Regions from separate parts of the Homo sapiens genome. Here region 1 is linked to region 2. Evidence: promoter capture Hi-C in 16 types of primary human blood cells and fetal thymus (Javierre and others, 2016). All regions are on one chromosome and are shown on one strand. Each heading gives the region's core, a stretch centred on a gene start or on the middle of the fragment in contact. The rest is flanking DNA. Distances are from core to core; before and after follow the strand shown.

The links. Contacts are between HindIII fragments. The CHiCAGO score rates a contact against its expected background, and 5 or more counts as called.
Region 1: a contact is called between a fragment that was not itself captured here and the fragment with the promoter of PRKDC in region 2, in 1 of 17 cell types (monocytes). The highest score is 5.1, in monocytes.

The regions. Positions count from the first base shown.
Region 1 is chr8:47,351,053-47,353,752 of GRCh38, forward strand. All of the region lies in intron 5 of SPIDR (scaffold protein involved in DNA repair), which reads left to right. Among named protein-coding and RNA genes, the nearest start is that of SPIDR, 91 kb to the left of the region's middle. RefSeq lists an enhancer at 1,822-2,700. The HindIII fragment of the contact is 2,242 bases long and covers 162-2,403 here.
Region 2 is chr8:47,958,730-47,961,544 of GRCh38, forward strand. It overlaps PRKDC (protein kinase, DNA-activated, catalytic subunit), which reads right to left and starts at 1,407. Exons shown (of 86, transcript NM_006904.7): 1 at 1,244-1,407. The coding sequence starts at 1,397. It overlaps MCM4 (minichromosome maintenance complex component 4), which reads left to right and starts at 2,212. Exons shown (of 17, transcript NM_182746.3): 1 at 2,212-2,285; 2 at 2,402-2,485; 3 at 2,787-2,815. The coding sequence starts at 2,416. RefSeq lists an enhancer at 876-1,035 and silencers at 1,216-1,265, 1,276-1,575, 2,246-2,645. The HindIII fragment of the contact is 8,899 bases long and covers 1-2,815 here.

The DNA of each region.
Region 1 (2,700 bases), core at 33-2,532, 610 kb before region 2:
GTTATCAGATTGACTATCACAACATCTCAGTGCTGTGTTCACGTCACTCTTACTTTACTTAATAGTGACCCCAAAATGCAAGAATAGTAATGCTGGCATGTTGTTACAATCGTTCTATTATTATGTTGTTAATCTCTTTACTGTGTCTGATTTATAAATTAAGCTTCATCATAGGCATGTATTCATGGGAAAATCTATGGTGAATATAGCGTTTGGTGCTATCCATGTTTTCAGACATCCACTGGGGGTCTTGAAACATATCCTCTCAGAATTGATTATTATTTTGAGGTCCCATGTTTTAAAAGCAGTGTGAAGAAGGTAGGTGAGTTCAGAAAGGAAACTGAGTTGGGTTTTGAAGACCGAGTGGGATTTACCACATTTAAAGTAGAAAATGTGGTAAAGAGCTGGGATGAAACAGGTGTGTTTAATACTCATTGCAGGCTGGAGTATGGGACCATAGGGTGGGGAAGATGATACCTAGAACTTAACTTTTTGAACACAAGTTAAACAAAATGATGTCTTAATTTTGAAAGCATAACTTTTAAAGTACAGTTAGCCCTCCATATCCATGGGATATGTGGATTCAATCAACCATGGACCAAAAATATTTGGAAAGACAAATTCTACAAAGTTCCAAAAAACAAAACTTGATTTTGCCACATTGAGTACTACACTGAATGAAGTGATACGTAGGCATTGTGTTAGGCATTATAACTAGTCTAGAGATGAATTAAAGTATACAGGAGGATGTATATAATGTTATATTCAAATACTACATCATTTTAGATCAGGAACTTGAGCATCCTTGGATTTTCTTGTCATCGGAGTGAGCAGGTCCTAGAAGCAATCCCCTATGCTTACTGAGGGATAACTGTATATTATAATTTTGAAAGAACAGATGTTCAGGATCCTTTAAACATTTTACTGTGTTAGAGGATAATTTGGGCTGGGCGCAGTGGCTCACGCCTGTAATCCCAGCACTTTGGGAGGCCGAGACAGGTGGATCACGAGGTCAAGAGATCGAGACTATCCTGGCCAACTTGATGAAACCCCGTCTCTACTAAAAATACAAAAATTATCCGGGCGTGATGGTGCGTGCCTGTAATCCCAGCTACTCGGGAGGCTGAGGCAGGAGAATCACTTGAACCCGGGAGGCGGAGGTCGCAGTGAGCCAAGATCGCGCTACTACACTCCAGCCTGGTGACAGAGCCAGACTCCATCTCAACAAAAAAAAAAAAAAGAAAGAAAGAAAATAATTTGACCGTGTACTTCTTGTTTTCATCTGGAGTCTAGGCTGTAAAATATAAACATTACAGTTAAAGGCTTTATATGTCTATGTGTCTTAGCCTAGACATTGGATATGTGTTGCTATGGGATGAGAGATCTGATTTATTTTAGCCACTAGCAGTAAATGTGGTGAAAAATTAAGACTGAAAACTACAATGTTGAGGGGTGAAAGGAAGGGCTAAACATTTTTCATTGTGGTGGATTCTGCCAGCGTAGACTGCTAAATGTTTGTGGTTTGGATCTTGTTCACTCTGAACGCTTTAGGCCTTGTGTAGGTTTTCCCCAGAGTATGAGGTGGTTGTGAACTGCTTTTGCTAATGGTGAGAATGAACTATCATGATGTTATATAACAAGGATGGCATTCTGGGAGACGCAAAATTTAAAGTAGGGGAAAAGGAGGATGGCAAAAACTAAGTAAAGTAACTTGAAAAGTTATTCTTTCTGCCAGGCGTGGTGGCTCACGCCTGTAATCTCAATGCTTTGGTAGGCCGAGTCGATGAGGTTGAGAGATCGAGACCATCCTGGCCAACGTGGTGAAACCCCATCTCTACTAAAAATACAAAAATTAGCTGGGCGTGGTGGCATGCACTTGTAGTCCCAGCTACTTGGGAGGCTGAGGCAGGAGAATTGCTTGAACCCAGGAGGCAAAGGTTGCAGTGAGCCAAGATCATGCCACTGCACTCCAGCCAGGCGACAGAGCGGGACTCTATCTCAAAAAAAAAAAAAAAAAAAAAAAGTTATTCTTTCCAAATATGATACAATTTTGTTCAACTTAATTTTGTTAAATTTTTATTCAAAAAGTTAAGTTCTAAATAGCATCAAACATGGTGGGAGTCAAAATAATTAAAATCGTATTTTTTCTGAAAGTGTGTAGACTGCCTGCATACTTATATATACGCCAGATTGTATTTTACTTACCTTCTCATTTGCATCTTACCCTTGTGGCCGAATTAGCAGGACCTGTGTGAGAATGACATAACTTCACCGCCTCTTACCTGCTCCAGCTGCAACGCGTGAGAGTGCTGAACTGTGGCCTAGATTTTTCTCTAGGGCTTTCCACGGAAGTGAGTCAACACATTGTTTCTGGCTTTTCTTGCTGTCCCTCCCTAATATGCAAGCTTAGGTTGCTTTGGAATTTTCCAGGTACAGTGTTGGAGAAGTTGTAACACAGGAGGAGGCCAGAGCGTAGGTTTAGTGTGGTGGGGAGAGGGTTGGAGCAATTGTTCAAGGGAAGATTGAAAGTGACCAAAATGGCATGAGGGTAAAAATGTTACCTGAATTAAATATGTACCAAACACTGAAAATCCCTTATTATATTTTAGTATCTTTTATCATTGTATTTTAAAATTGATTTAAATCTATACTGAGATTTTTTTTTTTTTTTTAGTGTGGATTTCAACACATTTTTTGTGC
Region 2 (2,815 bases), core at 157-2,656:
TAGCATCTTTTTTTTTTTTTTTTTGGGACGGAGTCGTGCTCTGTTGCCCAGGCTGGAGTGCAGTGGCACAATCTCGGCTCACTGCAATCTCCTTCTCCTGGGTTCAAGACATTCTCCTGTCTCAGCCTCCCGAATAGCTGGGACTACAGGCGCTCGCCACCATGCCCAGTTAATTTTTGTATTTTTAGTAGAGACAAGGTTTCACCATACTGGTCAGGTTGGTCTCCATCTCCTGACCTCAGGTGATCCAGCTGCCACAGCCTCCCAAAGTGCTGGGATTACAGGCATGAGCCACCGCACCGTGCCACATATAGCATCTAGTTTAAACTGTTTAAGTTATTCCTACACCATATTCACTACTAGACCCTCCGGAAGAAAATCTCACCTTTTAATAGGGCACAACATCAAGGTCTGCATACTCGTGTTTTAAAGAAGGAATACAGGAGATCCACATAATTAAGTATTTGAATATTTAAAATGCTAAAAAGAGGCACTTTTACTACAAAGGGGAAAAAGTTCCCACCCAGGCATTGCTAAAGAGTTAAAAGAACATGACTTCAATTACATTTCTTCAATTTTTCTCAAAGTAGGAACGGCAAATAGAGGGGTTTGGAAAAGGTACTGGTGGGATTAGGCGAGATTCAGGTGAAAGAAAATACTTTCTCTTGGCCGGGCCCGGTGGCTCACGTCTGTAATCCCAGCACTTTGGGAGGCCGAGGCGGGGGGATCACGAGGTCAGGAGTTCGAGACCAGCCTGACCAACATGGTGAAACCCCATCTCTACTAAAAATACAAAAAAATTAGCCGGGCGTGGTGGCGCGCGCCTGTAATCCCAGCTACTCGGGGGGCTGAGGCAGGAGAATAGCTTGAACCCGGGAGGCGGAGGTTGCAGTGAGCCGAGATCGCGCCACTTCACTCCAGCCTGGGCGACAGAGCGAGACTCCGTCTCAAAAAAAAAAAAAATTATTTCTCTTGCCCTGCCCCCCACTCTGCATAGCAATGATTGCCATATTAGGGGTCGTTTTCACCAACTTTGGCTTTAAAATATCTTTCCTCTAATACTAGGGGGTAAAAAGCAGTATGACAAATCCCTTTATACACATACACAGAAATTCCCCCAAGAATCTAATTGCTGTACTTCAAAATACCGTCATCTAAACACAGAGAAGCGCCGGGCTGCCCGGCTCCAGAACGACTCGGGAAGCCAGGACCCACCCGCGGCCCAGCTCGGGCCGGTACCCACCCAGCACCGCGGGGCTGCTGCTCAGGACGCATTCCTGCCCCAGGCCGCGGATCAGTTGATGACCGGCCAGGGCAGCACCGCAGCGGTCCGCAGCGGACAAGGTCTCCTGCAGCCGCAGCAGGGAGCAACGCACACCGGCTCCGGAGCCCGCCATGCCGCCGAGTCCCGCTCCCGCGCGTGCGCCCGCTCGGCCCGGACCCGGAAATGCCCCTACGCGCGGAGGCGGGGCTGCGGGGCGCGGCGGCAGGAACTTTCCCGGGGACCCCTGCGGGAAGGCCTGGCCAGTAAGCGCGCCTCTTTGGCCCGAATCAACATGGAAACCTAAGGAAAAACGTCTGACCTGCGGAGGTAGTTTGGGTGGCTACTTGGTGTTGGACTTGGCTAAATAAATACCAGAGGCAGATAAAACAAGCGAGGGGCCTAGGTCAAGAGTTCCAAGTTTGTTCCTCGATAAAAAACGACAAACGCGGTCGGGGGCGGTGATGCCCGCCTGCAGTCCCAACACTTTAGGAAGCTGAGGCGGGGGGATCGCAGGAGTTCGAGACCAGTCTGGGCAACATAATGAGACCATCCCCACCACCTCCCGTCCTTAATTTTTTTTAATAAAAAAAATCTTTAAGTGAGAAATGCATCTGTAATGTCCTTATTAACCAAAAACGCCTAAGGGATAAAGAAGCACACGCTCCCTAGCCAACGCTAGAGGAACACACCCCGAGAGCTGGTGCTGTAGGACCCAGTTTTCCCGCGAAAACGCTGCCGCGCAGGGGGTCAGACCATCTGGACCAAGGGGGGCCGAGCGAGGCCTACTTCTGGTTTACGCACGGGCGCTGAAAGAAGCGGCACTGTCCCCCCCTGCCGATGCGCAGTGGCGCCTCCCGGAGGCGGAGCCACGTACGAGCGCCGCTGTGATTGGTGAGGCCCCGCCAGGGGCGGAGACGACCTTGCCGCCGGCGGGAACTCTGGGTCTCGCGGTTTGGGAGCGCTACTCGCCAGGTGGACTCGGAGTCCGCGAGCGTCGTCGGCAAGCGGCCGCCTTTCCACGGTAACCGCGCGCCGGCGGGGAGGGCGTGGCGCGGAGCCGACGGGAACGTCCGCGCTGCGGAGCAGGGCAGGGAAGCCGGGAGGCGGGCCCGGCCCGAGCTTGTCCTTGTCGCGCAGGTACTCCGAGCACTATGTCGTCCCCGGCGTCGACCCCGAGCCGCCGCGGCAGCCGGCGTGGAAGGGCCACCCCCGCCCAGACGCGTGAGTCCCCCGAGCCGGGCCCACTACAGCCCCCGGCGCCGCCCCGTCTGCCCTCTCGCCGCAGCTGGCAGCGCTGGGTGGGTGCGCGGGACCCGGGCGCTCAGCCTCGGGCTGGGCGCTGCCGCTTGGTGCGCACAGACACCCACAGCAGGCTGTGGCCTGGGTGCTGCTTAATTCGATTGCCATTTGCCTCTGTTTGGTTTGGTTCAGTGGTGAGTCATAATGCCCCAAGGAAAAGACAAATCCAGGAAGGCCGGCCCTGAAAGTTAATGGCTGTCTTTTCTGTTTTGTGTGACACAAGCTCGGAGTGAGGATGCCAGGTCATCTCCC